Linked DNA regions of Homo sapiens: region 1 is linked to region 2. The links are contacts of gene promoters, found by promoter capture Hi-C in blood cells and fetal thymus (Javierre and others, 2016). All regions are on one chromosome and are shown on one strand. Each heading gives the region's core, a stretch centred on a gene start or on the middle of the fragment in contact. The rest is flanking DNA. Distances are from core to core; before and after follow the strand shown. Region 1 overlaps FAF2 (Fas associated factor family member 2). Region 2 holds the start of FAF2 (Fas associated factor family member 2).

Region 1 (6,731 bases), core at 2,669-5,168, 36 kb before region 2:
AATACAAAAATTAGCCAGGCATGGTGGCATGCACCTGTAGTCCCAGCTACTCAGGGAGGCTGAGGCAGGAAAATTGCTTAAACCCAGGAGGCGGAGGTTGCAGTGAGCTGAGATCGCGCCACTGAACTCCAGCCTGGGGGCAGAGCAAGATTCTGTCTCAAAAAAACAAACAAACAAATAAAAACCAAAACTGCCTTAATACTTATTTTTGGCAGCTACTTATAGACTTGTCAAATTCAATTGCAAATTAATGTTCCCCAAATGATACACACTCATTCTTTCCTTTTTAGATTTACACATCAAAATATGGTATACAGAAATAAGCCAGGCTTGGTGGCTCACGCCTGTAATCCCAACACTTTGGGAGGCTGAGGCGGATGGATCACCTGGGGTCAGGAGTTCGAGACCAGCCTGGTCAACATGGTAAAACCCTGTCTCTACTAAAAATACAAAAATTAGCTGGGTGTGGTGGCTCACACTTGTACTCCCAGCAATTTGGGAAGCCAAGGCAGGCAGATCACTTGAGGTCAGGAGTTTGAGACCAGCCTGGCCAACATGGTGAAACCCTGTCTCTACTAAAAATACAAAAATTAGCCAGACGCGGTGGTGGGCGCCTGTAATCCCAGCTACTCAGGAGGCTGAGGCAGGAGAATCGCTTGAACCTGGGAAGCTGAGGTTGCAGTGAGCTGAGATCACACCACTGCACTCCAGCCTGGGCAACAGAGGGAGATTCTGTCCCAAAACAAAACAAACAAACATAAAAACCTAAAATAATGTATATAGAAATAGCAAGAAAGATAATCACTATTACTAACCTTGGACATTGGTATATAAACATTAAATAATTATATTAACCACAATGACAAATCCCCATATAGCTGCTTATCTTAGTAATAATGCTAATTATTATTGCTGTTATTAATTATTAAAACTAGCATACATCCAGGGCTCTATAGTTTATAAAGCATTTCATAGTTGTCACATTGTGTTAACCTGAGACACTTTCTGTGTCTGTGGCCAGGAAGCTCTGGAGCCCCATGGCTGACATGGGAATCTGCTACTGTACTTCAGAAAACCACAGAGCACTACTTAGAAACATGTTTTAAAACATCAAGTAGGCCAGGCACAGTGCCTCAAGCCTGTAATTCCAGCACTTTGGGAGGCTGAGGTGGGCAGATAACTTGAGCTCAGGAGTTCAAGACCAGCCTGGGCAACATAGCAAGACCCCATCTCTACAAAAAATACAAAAATTAACCAGGATGGTGGCGCACACCTGTAGTCCCAGCTACTTAGGAGGCTGAGGTGGAGGACTGCTTGAGCCCGGGAGGTCTAGGCTGCAGCGAGCCAAGATCATGCCACTGCACTCCAGGCTGGGCGACAGAGTGAGACCCTGTCTCAAACAGAACAAAACACAACAAAAATCAAGTACTCCACAAAAAGGCTTGATGATGGAGTAAATTCTAACTGCTGCAATGTTAAAGGGAGTGTTTTCTTAGGATTCTAAATGCAAGTATAAAAGTATAAGAGGTGAGTATAACCCCAGGGGTAAGAAAAAGAAAGTCCAAGCAGTTCTTTAGAATTCATTATCAGTGTACACATCTGACTTCCTTCAATAGACTGTGAGAAATTGAATTTGAAATGGGAAGACTGGCTCTTTATTCATGTCTGGATCCCTAGTAGCAAGATACCAGGTTATTGGAGTACTCTTAAATGTCTGTCAAATTTAAGTGAACCACCTCCTTGCTACTAGCCCTTCAAGGCTAATTTCAAAGACGTGGCCAAAGCTCCTACAAAGATTCCATATACTTCCTCAAAACTGGTTTAAGATTAAGTAAACTGAAGCAACAAAGAACTTGAGTAAACAAATTGTAACTTAAGAGGCAGAAAACACTCTCCAAATAACTGGCAAAGAAAAGAAAAAAAAAATGAGTAGTTTCTGTAACAATTCCTTGAGGAATCAAGGCAAAATAATACACCCAACGGGCCAAGTCTAACTAACAGGTTTACATTCTAAATATTTGTTTTGCTCCTGTCACAGGGAGATCAATATAACCAAGTGGATATACTTATAAATAAAAAAGGGGGAAATCCCAGCTATGAAATAACTTGCCCTTGGTTGAGGTCTTGAGACAACATAGCTGTAGATCCTGTGGTCAGCTGTATTAACCTGCAGGGGTCGTGATGGAGGTGGGTTGAAAACACTAGGTACGCCCTCTTGCTCATTCAATCTGTCCTGTACAGCAGCCTGAGAAGGAAAACGGAGTGGCAAGAGTTTCAGCGATGCTCAAATCAACCAACAACAAGAGGTGAGGCAACTATTGCGTGGTATTCCAAAACAGGATGGTCATGAATACACCAAAAGGTCACTGAGGAGTGCACCTTCATGGGCCTGTTAACCGGCTGTACTTGGAGGCAACTGGAGTTGTCACTCCAGAATGCATCCATGGTAGAGGAGACGAGGAAACTTGTCTGGAAGCTACATTTATGCAGCAAGCGTACTGCCTGGATTCAGATGGCATGTATTATTTAGGGTGGCTGGGATATAAAGTGCTTCACTGTACAATCCCAAGAAAAGCCATCCTCAGAGAATACAATGTAGGCAGTACCCCTGGAGTTATGCAGTGAAGCAGTCCTGATGAGTGGCATCTGATGAAGGGGCTTGCAGCAGAGAAACTTCGGTCTGATCCAAGCTCCATCTCTCTGAAAAGTTGCTCAATGTATGAGCCTCAGGTCAGGCGCGGTGGCTCAAACCTGTAATCCTAACACTTTGGGAGGCTGAGGTGAGAGGATTGCTTGAGCCCAGAGACCAGAAATTCGAGACCAGCCAGGGCAATGAAACGAGACCCTGTCTCTAAAAATAAAAAATAAAGAAGAAAAAAACATATGAGCCTCAGTTTCCTCATGTGCAAAATAAAGGAACAATATTTCTGAGTTAATCTGAAAATTTAATGAGTTGGCCACACATAAAGATCCTAATACAACTCCTGTCAGACTACTGATATTCAGTTTAAAAAATTCATTCCCTCCTTAACTCTGTCCTTGAAATAGATATTTGTCTCAATGTAGTAAAAAAAAGTTGACCTTACCCAAAGAGATGTCTGATCTTTCCCTTTTGGGAGGTAATCTATGTCAGACCTGATAAGCATGTCTTTGTTACTAGATTTTAGGTTGCAGCTGCAACACCCAGTAGTCTTAGGGTGAAAGCCGGCCATGCCAGAAAGACCAACCATGTGGTTTAGGGTGGGGAACTTTGGACAACTTGGTATCAGTTGACTTGAAGACTGAGTTCAACCATGTGGGCAGCCAAACAAATCAATCGTGCCTATGTAATGATGCCCTAATAAATTCTCTGGAAGCACTGAAGCTTCCCTGGTTGGCAATACAGTAGTCCCTTCTTATCCACAGGGATATGTTCCAAGACCTCTAGTAGATTCCTGAAACCATGTATAGTACCGAACTTGAATGCTGTCATTGGAAGCTATTTCTCTTCATGTCTTCCACTCAAAAAATGCCTTTTCCATCTTAACTATGCACTTATCATGCACTGTGGCTGCAATTTTTGCAGAAGTGTGACCATAAAACTACTATGAATTTCTTTTTCTTTCTTCACAATTTCACAAACACAAGCTAGATCTTAGCAACTTCAGCATATAATTTTTTTATTTCCTCATTAAGTCAGGAACTTTAACCTTTTTTTTTTTTTTTCTTGAGATGGAGTCTTATTCTGTTGCCCAGGCTGGAGTGCAGTGGCATGATCTCAGCTCACTGCAACCTCCGCGCCCCCAGGTTCAAGCGATTCTCCTGCCTCAGCCTCCCGAGTAGCTGGGATTACAGGCTCCTGCCACTGTGCCCAGCTAATTTTTGTATTTTTAGTAGAGACGGGGTTTCACCATCTTGGCCAGGCTGGTCTTGAACTCCTCACCTCATGATCTACCTGCCTCGGCCTCCCAAAGTGCTGGGATTACAGGCATGAGCCACTGCTGGCCAGGAACTTTAACCTTTTCACTTAAAGGACACATTTCCTGGCTTCTCTCTAGCATAGCTGAGTTGCCAGCATCACTACTCCTGTGCTTTGGGGCCAATATTAAGTAAAATAGGGGAACCTGAACAAAAGTACTGTAATGGCACAACAGTTGATCTGATAACGGCTACTAACTGACTAACAGGTGGGTCTTGTATACAGTATGGAGACGCTGGACAAATGGATAATTCACGTTCCGGGTAAGGTAGAATGGGACAGAGTGAGATTTCATCATGTTTCTCAGAACAGCATGCATTTTAAAACTTATGAATTGTTTATTTCTGGAATCTTCCACTTAATATTTTCAAACCACAGTTGCCTACTAGTAACTGAAACCACAGAATGTGAAACTGTGGGTGGAGGGGGCTACTATACTTCATGCATATTGTTATACATCTATGCCAAGAAGGTAATGTGTCCCGACTCTGCAGGAGCGTAGTATGCAAGCTTCATGTCCAAAATCCTTTTAGACTCTGCCCCCTTTTTTTCTTTTTTTTTCTTTTTTTGAGACGGAGTCTAGCTCTGTCACCAGGCTGGAGTGCAGTGGTACAATCTCGGCTCACTGCAACTTCCCCCTCCCAGGTTCAAGCAATTCTCCCACCTCATCCTCCAAGTAACTGGGATTACAGGCACGCACCGCCACACACAGCTAATTTTTGTATTTTTAGTAGCGATGGGGTTTCACGATGTTGGCCAGAATGGTCTTAAATTCCCGACCTCGTGATCCACCCACCTTGGCCTCCGAAAGGGCTGGGATTACAGGCGTGAGCCACCACACCCGGCCAACTCTGCCCTATTTGTCTCTTCCTTTAGCTGCTTTTAATCTATATGTTCCCTATAATAAACTATAACCATGACTATAACAACTTTCAGTGAGTTCTAGTGAATTAGCAAATCTGAAGACGGTTTTGCGACACTCTGAAACTGCAGGTGGTTTCAGAAGTGAAGGTGGTCTTTAGGAGGGCAGTGTGCCCTCTGAACTCAATTACTAGCTTCAAACTTTGAAATTTGGCTAATATCAGGTAGTCCCCTAGTTTTACAATTCAACGAGGAAAGAATAATCTTTCAACAAATGATGCTGGGATAATTGGATATCCACATGCAAAAGAAAGTGGATTAACCCCTAGATCACACTATACATAAAAATTAACTACAAATACATCAAATACATCAAAAACCTAAATGTAAAAGCTGAAATTATAAAACTCTTAAAACAAGGGTATAAATCTTCCCAACCTCAGATTAAGCAAAAGTATCTTAGATACGACAACAAAAGCACACGCGACAAAAGAAAAAAGTAGATAAATTGGACTTCATCAAAACGAAAAACTTTTCTGCATCAAATTACACTATCATGAATGCGGCAAGATAGCATGTACCTGTAGTCTGAGGTGTCAGGGAGGCTGAGGCAGGAAGGCTTCTTGAGCCCAGGACTTCAAGGTTACAGTGAGCTATGATCAGGCCACTGCACTCCAGCCTGGGCAACAAACCAAGACTCCATCTCTCAAAAAAAATAAAATAAATAAAAATAAATAAAAAAAAGAAAACAGGCCGGGCACAGTGGCTCACACCTGTAATCCCAGCACTTTGGGAGGCCGAGGCGGGCGGATCACAAGGTCAAGAGACCAAGACCATCCTGGCCAACACTACTAAAAATACAAACAACAACAACAACAACAACAAAACCACAAACCACTATCAAGAGAGTAAAAAGATAACTCGCAGAAAGGGAGAAAACATTTGCAAATTAAATATCAGATAAGCACCAGGCATGGTGGCTCACGTCTGGAATCCCAACACTTTGGGAAGACAAGCTGGGAGAATCACTGGAGCCCAGGAGTTTAAGACCAGCCTGGTCAATACAGCGAGACCCCATCTGTACAAAAAATAAAAAAATAAAATATTAGCTGGATGTGGTGGTGTGTGCTTGTAGTCCTAGCTACTCAGGAGGCTGAAGTGAAAGGATCACTTGAGTCTGGGAGGTCAAGGCTGCAGTTAGCCATAATAGTACCACTGTACTCCAGCCTGGGCAACAGAGAGAAATCCTGTCTCAAAAAAACATAAACTGGCCAGACGCAGTGCTTACGCCTGTAATTCCAGGAATTTGGGAGGCCAAGGCGGGTGGATCACTTGAGGCCAGGAGTTCAACACCAGCCTGGCCAACATGGAGAAACCTCGCCTCTACTAAAAATACAAAAATTAGCCGGGCATGGGACACCTGTAGTCCCAGCTACTCAGGAGGCTGAGGCAGGAAAATTATTTGAACCTGGGACGTGGAGGTTGCAGTGAGCCGTGATCACGCCTCTGCACTCTAGCCTGTGCCACAGAGTGAAACTTCATCTCAAAAAAAAAAAAAAACTTTCACAGCTCAACATGAAAAAGATAACCAAATTTAAGAACTGGCAAAGGACTTGAATAGACATTTTTGCAAAGAAGATATGCAAATGTTCAATAAGAATATGAAAAAATATTCAACATCATTTTAGCCACTAGGGAAATGCAAATCAAAACCACCCTAGATCACTAGGGTGAGTATGATCTAGAAGACAAATATTAACAAGTGTTGGTGAGGGTGTGGAGAAATTCAGACCTTCCTACAACGCTGTTGGGAATTTAAAATGGTATAACCACTTTGAAAACAGTCTGGGAGCTCTTCAAAAGGTTAAACATAGTGTCACCATATGACTCAGCAAAGTCCATTCCTAGGTAT
Region 2 (7,480 bases), core at 1,342-3,841:
TCTGATCCAGCGATTGCTTATAGAATAGAAAAATGAAAGATGCATTTCCCTCAATAAATCCAATTTCATAAGGCAATCTTAATACAGCTCGAACCTGCTACCCACCTCTCTTCTAATAAAGATCTCCACAGTTTTGGCCGGGCGCGGCGGCTCACGCCTGTAATCCCAGCCGAGGAGGGCGGATCACGAGGTCAAGAAATCGAGACCATCCTGGCCAACATCGTGAAACCCCGTCTCTACTAAAAATACAAAAAATTCGCTGGATGTGGTGGCGCGTGCCTGTAGTCCCAGCTACTCGAGAGGCTGAGGCAGGAGAATCGCTTGAAACTGGAAGGCGGAGGTTGCAGTGAGCCGAGATCGCGCCACTGCACTCCAGCCTGGGCAACAAGAGCGAAACTCCGTCTCAAAAAAAAAAAAAAGATCTCCACAGAAGATAAAATGGAGGTTCCTATGCACTTTACTTCAGAAATGCTATCATAGATTTATATTCATGCTCTTCCAGTATGAGACTAAATATACCATAATTTATAACTCACATTACTTCATTGCACTTAAACCACATGTTAGCTTACCCCTGAAGAGTTCTAAGGGGTAAAATGGTCTGCCAAAGTTAAACAACACTCTGAAATTGGTGGTCTACCTGGAAGTGTAAGCTGGTTGTCTGTTTAACTCATTCTCTAATAATAATTTGCTGGGTCATCAATTCAATTTCTCTACCAAAAATTCCAATCAAATGTCAATTACATCTATGACAGCATTTTTCCATTTATACACTTCCAACACACTGCTCAATTTAAGAGGGGAAAAAATAACCACTTCAAAATTTATTATAGTGAAGTCTATTCAAGGAAATTGCAAAAAAGTGAGAACTCGCCAAAAAAATATTTATTTTCTCAGCATTTGCATTCCACACTCAACTGTACACTGAAATATAAGTTGCACAAGACAGAAGTCAGAAGCCTGGGAAGGGTTCTGGAAGATGGACATAGCTTTAAATCTGACACCATCATTTTCTAGCTGTGTAACCTAAGCATTTTATTTCTTAGTCCTGATACCCTTCATCTGTAAATCAGGGACTAGAACAGTATGAACCTCATAGGGTTGCTGTATTAAATGAGGTTATGTATGCTAAGTGTTTACAAAGTACTTACATCTGAAATAGTAAGTGGGATTCTACCTAGCAGCGCTGCGCACTAAGGTTCTTCATATAGTTGAATAAATGAATATTTACACATTTTATATAAGGAAATAAGTGTATCAATAACTTTAGGTCTATCCTAAGTCAAATTAATAGCAGAAAATACTATTTGGGGGCATTTTGCAGTCTACAAGGCCCTTCTAACATCCATATGTCCATTTGATCTCCCGAACATCCTCAGGAGGTAGATTTTTTTTTTTTTGAGACGGAGTTTCACTCTTGTTGCCCAGGCTGGAGTGCAGTGGCACGATCTCGGCTCACTGCAACCTCCGCCTCCCGGGTTCAAGCGAGTCTCCTGCCTTAGCCTCCCGAGTAGCTGGGACCACAGGCGTGCACCACCACGCCCGGCTAATATTTGTATTTTTAGTAGAGACGGGGTTTCACCATATTGGCCAGAGTGGTCTCGAACTCCTGACCTCGTGATTCGCTGGCCTTGGCCTCCCAAAGTGCTGGGATTACAGGCGTGAGCCACCGCTCCTGGCCTGGGGGTAGACATTTTTAAGACAGTCCTTTCAGAGATAAGGAAACTGGTAACAAAGTGCCAAGGTTACCCACCCTAGTGGTATCCTCCAACCATTCTCCAGCTCAGGGGTAAGTGATCAGTGGCAAATGTTCTTAATACAACATCTTGTATTAACATAACATTTCTGCAAGTTACCACCCTCCTCAAGCATAGTTAAGCACAGGAATCCAGGAATAAGCCAAAAGTAATAAATCCCGACAGACCACTGATGACACTTATCATCTTGCATTGTTTCCTCACTTGGTGTCCTCCCACACCTCTAGGGCGGGGACCAGATCTGTGTGTAGGTGCCCCCTCCCCGACCGGAACCCCCAACACGAAACCTGGTATCCAAGAGGCCCCAGTTTGTGGGAGTGTATGTGGAAATGGCATGGGATGCTGGCAGGAGGTTTTCCTGTCAGAGACCCGAAATGACGCCAACTCCGCGGTGGGGACTAAGCTTCTCCGGCAGATATAGACTCGTTGGGCGGAGAGGGTCCGACCGATAACCGGGCTGGGAAGGATGGCTGAGGACTGACGCCGCTAAGGCAAACCAGGGAAGCTGACACGCTGAGGGCACAGAGGCACAGACGAGGCGGGTCTGCCCGCAGCGATGGCTGGAAGGCTAGGGTCCAACAGAGGCTTGGGGGCCGGGGGAATCAGGGCAGTTGGAGTCTGGGGGGGAGGGGGCCGGCCTGCTGGTCTGAGAAGGATCTGAACCCAATCTGAGGAGGGTTCTGAACTCCTCTAGGGGCCTACTCCCCATCCCACGGAGGCATCTGCTGCACCGAGTACTCGCTGCTACCTGAAACTGCAGCAGCTTCTCTGTCTGCTCCTGGGTTAGATCCCGCTCCTCAGGCGCCGCCATTTTGCCGCCGCCTCTACGCTCCTGACCCGTCCGCACCGTCACCCGCCGGAACTGACCTCAGCCACAACCACATCCGGTCTGAACGGCCGCCGGCGCGCAACTGCGTCTGCGCGCGCTGGCCCACTAACCTCCCCCCGCCCCCCGCCACCTCTGGCCGCCGCCAGAGGGCGCCACGCTCGGGCCTATCCCGAACACTTCCGGAAATTGCCGAGGGACTGTCGGTACAAGTCGCTCTTACCATTTAGGCGACGAAAGGATCTGCTAAGATTAGGCGACGAAAGGAGACCTAAGATTCCAGTGCAGTCTTGCAGAGCCGAGAGGGCCCGAATGTGCCTCGAGAAGCTCCGGAGCATCCCGAATGGCATTCGGCTGATTTCGGCTGCTCTCTAACCATTTTCCGGCAACCTCAGATACTCTTGGAGGTTTCTCGGGAGACGCAGCCGTTCCGAAATACCAGCCTTTTGGTCGCTGGCCCCTGACCTAAAGTTTCCAAAAGCTCCTGACCATCTCTCGGGAGGTTCCGAAGGGCTCTGGATACTGGCGCGGCATTTCCGACGCCGCCTTCGAAGCGGAAGCTGTGGGCAGACTTCGGCCACCGTTCCATTGCCGCTTCGGGGTCACTTGCAGGAAGATCTGGACTCGGCTCCCCGGATCCTCGACCATTCATGGCGCCCCCAGTCGTCCGCACAGCTTGCCGTCCACCGCCGTGACTGCGGCGCTGGAACCCCGGCCCGGCATCTGCTTTTCCGTGCCTGGAGCCTTGTCTCTCCGCACTAGCGCTGCACTGGCCCCTTGTCTCTGTGACAGGCGAAGAAAGATCCCTGGACCGGGATTAGGAGACGCGGGTTCTAGTTGCCACCTTGCCAACTGCTGGACATCCTTGGGCAAACCACTTGGGCTCCATTTTGCCATTTGTTGAATGAGATTCCCCAAAAGCCCCTGACGTGCTGCCGCCGCCCCTTCTCCTCGAGGCAGTCCCCTGCCCTTCCCTTCTGCTGCTTACACTACCCTATCACCACCCCTCAATCTCTATCTTCCTCTGCACGTCCCTTGCCCCTTCTAGTCCGCCACCTCTCTTTAGATTTCCCGTTTTCATTTCCACCTCTCCCGCCGAACGCCTCCTCTGCCCACCTTCCAGAGAGGCCTGGGTCTGGTACACGCTTTTCCACTGACCACCTGTGTGATTCTCAGCAAGGCTCTCGGCCGCCTGCGCCCCACCCTCGTCCCCTTGCAGGGTTGATCCGGTGAGACAGAAAAGGCTTTGAGAGCTGGTTCTGTGAAGAGTACATGAAATTTTGGCTACTTCTTTCAGGACTTATCAGGTCTTACCAGGTCTGCACAAACCACGACGTCCTGGAAAAACAGCACATGGTACGCCCTAAAACACAACCCCCAAAAAGTGCTAATTGGAAAAACAAAACAAAACAAAACAAAAACCCTGCAAATTTGGATCTGCATATGAAATCTTTCCGTTTAAAAATGGTGTCGGCCGGGCTCTGTGGCTCACGCCTGTAATCCCAGCGCTTTGGGTGGCCGAGGCGGGCGGATCACTTGAGGTCAGGAGTTCGAAACTGGCCTGGCCAACATGGCGAAACCCTGTCTCTACTAAAAATACAAAAATTAGCCAGGGTTGGTGGCGCACGCCTGTAGTCCTAGCTACTCGGGAGGCTGAGGCAGGAGAATCGCTTGAATCTGGGAGGCGGAGGTTGCAGTGAACTGAGATTGCCCCACTGTACTCCAGCCTGGGCGACGGAGTGAGACTCCGTCTCAAAAATAAATAAATAAATAAATAATATGTCAATTAAGTAAAAACCCCCGAAGGTAAAATCGGAAGCAGATAGCTGCTACTCTATAGAGAATTTATTACAGCAGCTCAAAGCTCAAAGGAAACTCAGTGTTGTTCAATCTCACCAATAACGTTGGGTTCAGATAAACTAAATGAGGGTTGGCAAAGTCAGATGTCCTCAGGAATTGTGTAATTCTCACTTAAGATATATACTTGCCAGCAGGCATGGTGGCAAATGCCTGTAGTCCCAGCTACTCGGGAGGCTGAGGTGAGAGGACCACTTGAGGCCATGAGTTCAAGGCTGTTGTATGCTGTGATCACACCACTGCATTCCAGCCTGGGTAACATATTCTTTCAACAGACCTAATTTGTAGTTATATGAAACACCATTGAATATTTCTTCACTTCCTCAAAGAAAGTTACACTTTCTTTTTCTATCTTTCTGTTTTCTTCTTTCTTTCTTTCTTTTCTTTGAGACGGAGTCTTGCTCTATCGCCCAGGCTGTAGTGCAGTGGCCTGATCTTGGCTCACTGCAAGCTCTGCCTCCTGGGTTCATGCCATTCTCCTGCCTCAGCCTCCTGAGTAGCTGAGGCTTACAGGTGCCTGCCACCATGCCCGGCTAATTTTTTTTTTGTATTTTTAGTAGAGATGGGGTATCACCGTCTTAGCCAGGATGGTCTACGATCTCCTGACCTCGGGATCCGCCCGCCTCGGCCTCCCAAAGTGCTGGGATTACAGACGTGAGCCATCGCACCTGGCCCTGTTTTCTTCTTTCAATAAAGATTAGGTTACAAGAAATAATTCATTTGTTTAAAACTCTACTTTAATGTGTCTCCGTGTGGGGACAAAATATGAAAAGCCGGAGTGTCCATTCCCTGTCCAAAGGTGGTTTTTGGCCAGACGCGGTGGTTCATGCCTGTAATCCCAGCATTCTGGGAGGCCAAGGTGGGAGGATTGTTTGAGCCTAGGAGTTGGGGACCAGCCTAGGCAATATAGTGAGACTGCCTCTACCAATTTTTTTTTTTTTTTTTAATTAGCCAAGTGTGGGCCGGGCACGGTGGCTCACACCTGTAATCCTAGCACTTTGGGAGGCTGAGGCGGGCAGATCTTGAGGTCAGGAGATCAAGACCATTCTGGCTAACACAGTGAAACCCTGTCCCTACTAAAAATAAAAAAAAATTAGCCAGGCATGGTGGCAGATGCCTGTAGTCCCAGGCCGAGGCAGGAGAATCGCTTGAACCTGGGAAGCAGAGGTTGCGGTGAGCCGAGATCGTGCCACTGCACTCCAGCCTGGGCAACAGAGCGAGACTCTGTCTCAAAAAAAAAAAAAAAGTTAGCTGAGTGTGTTAGTACGCATCTGCAGTTCTACCTAGTTAGGATGCTGAGGCAGGGATGATCACTTAAACCCGGGAGGCAGAGGTTGCAGTGAGCCATAGTCATGACTGCACTCCAGCCTGGGTAACAGAGCAAGACCCTGTCTCAAAAAAACAAACAAAAACAAAACAAAACAAAAAACAGACGGTTTCTGCCTTTTAGCTGTGGAGGATGGCTTCCATGTATTGCCGGAACTGCCCATTTTTTTTTCAGAGCACAGACATTCTCACCCCCCCAAAAAAATGTGAGGTGATGCATATGTTCATCAGCTTGATTTAGCCATTCCACAAAGTACACATATTTCAAAACATCATGTCCTACATGATACATTTTATTTGAAAAACATCACATTGTACACCTTAAAAAGTAAAATATGCTAATTTGAAAAGAAAAACTCTACACATTTGGATTTCCATGTGAAATCCCCCCATTTAAAAATGGTGTTGGCCAGGCGCGGTGGCTCATGCCTGTCATCTCAGCCCTTTGGAAGGCCGAGGTGGGTGGATCATCTGAGGTCAGGAGTTCAAGACCAGCCTGGACAACATGGTAAAACCCCGTCTCTATGAAAAATAGAAAAATTAGCCAGGGATGGTGGCCCGCACCTGTAATCCCAGCTACTTGGGAGGCTGAGGCAGGAGAATCACTTGAACCTGGGAGGCGGCGGTTGCAGTGAGTCGAGATCACGCCATTGCACTCCAGCTTGGAAGATAAGAGTGAAACTCCGTCACAAAAAGAAAAAAAGAAAAAGGTGTGAACTAATTCAATTCAAAAAAAGGTGTCAATTTCAAGAAAATTACTCTGCAAGTCAACCAGAATTGGAAGAAGCCTCATAGCCTCTGTTTGCCATGGAAGAAGCAGACCTGGGAAGAAACTCAAACTTTTTTTTGATAAGTTCAAGATGAAGAGTGTGAAAAGTGTTACCAGTTATTGGCTTGCCTTTTCTTTTTTTTATTTATATTTATATTTTATTTTATTTTATTTTATTTTTTGAGACGGAGTCTTGCTCTTGTAGCCCAGGCTGGAGTGCTGTGGTGCAATCTTGGCTCACTGCAAGCTCCGCTTCCTGGGTTCACACCATTCTCCTGCCTCAGCCTCCCAAGTAACTGGGACTACAGGCGCCCGCCACCACACCCGGCTAATTTTTTTGTATTTTTAGTAGAGACGGGGTTTCACCATATTAGCCAGGATGGTCTCCATCTCCTGACCTCGTTATCTGCCTGCCTCAGCCTCCCAAAGTGCTTGGGATTACGGGCGTGACCCACCACACCCAGCCTACTTTTTTTTTTTTTTTTTGAGACAGATTCTTGCTCTGTCACCCAGGCTGGAGTGCAGTGGCACTATCTCGGCCCACTGCAACCTCTGCCACCTAGGTTAAAGCGATTCTCCTACCTCAGCCTCCCAAGTAGCTGGGATTAAAGGCACATGCCAACAAGCCCGGCTAATTTTTGTATTTTTAAGTAGAGATGGGCTTCTCCAGGTTGGCCAGGCTGCTCTTAAACTCCTGACCTCAGGTGATCCACCCGCCTTGGCCTCCCAAAGTGCTGGTGTTATAGGCGTGAGCCACTGTGCCTGGCCTTCTTTTCTTTTTTTTTTTTTCCTCTTTTATTTTCTTTTCTCTTTTCTTTTCTTTTTTTTTTTTTGAGACAGGGCCTCCCTCTGTTGCTCAGGCCAGAGTATAGTGGCATGATCATGGCTCACCGCAGCCTCGACCTCCAGGGTGCAAGCGATCCTCTCACCTCAGCCTCCCAAGTA

Evidence for each region. Contacts are between HindIII fragments. The CHiCAGO score rates a contact against its expected background, and 5 or more counts as called.
Region 1: a contact is called between a fragment that was not itself captured here and the fragment with the promoter of FAF2 in region 2, in 1 of 17 cell types (endothelial precursors). The highest score is 5.1, in endothelial precursors.

What each region holds. Positions count from the first base shown.
Region 1 is chr5:176,481,869-176,488,599 of GRCh38, reverse strand. It overlaps FAF2 (Fas associated factor family member 2), which reads right to left. Exons shown (of 11, transcript NM_014613.3): 3 at 2,111-2,245. Among named protein-coding and RNA genes, the nearest start is that of FAF2, 37 kb to the right of the region's middle. The HindIII fragment of the contact is 1,104 bases long and covers 3,367-4,470 here.
Region 2 is chr5:176,443,496-176,450,975 of GRCh38, reverse strand. FAF2 (Fas associated factor family member 2) reads right to left here and starts at 2,591. Exons shown (of 11, transcript NM_014613.3): 1 at 2,506-2,591. The coding sequence starts at 2,568. RefSeq lists enhancers at 2,511-2,570, 2,881-2,940, 3,021-3,210 and a silencer at 2,651-2,700. The HindIII fragment of the contact is 11,476 bases long and covers 2,163-7,480 here.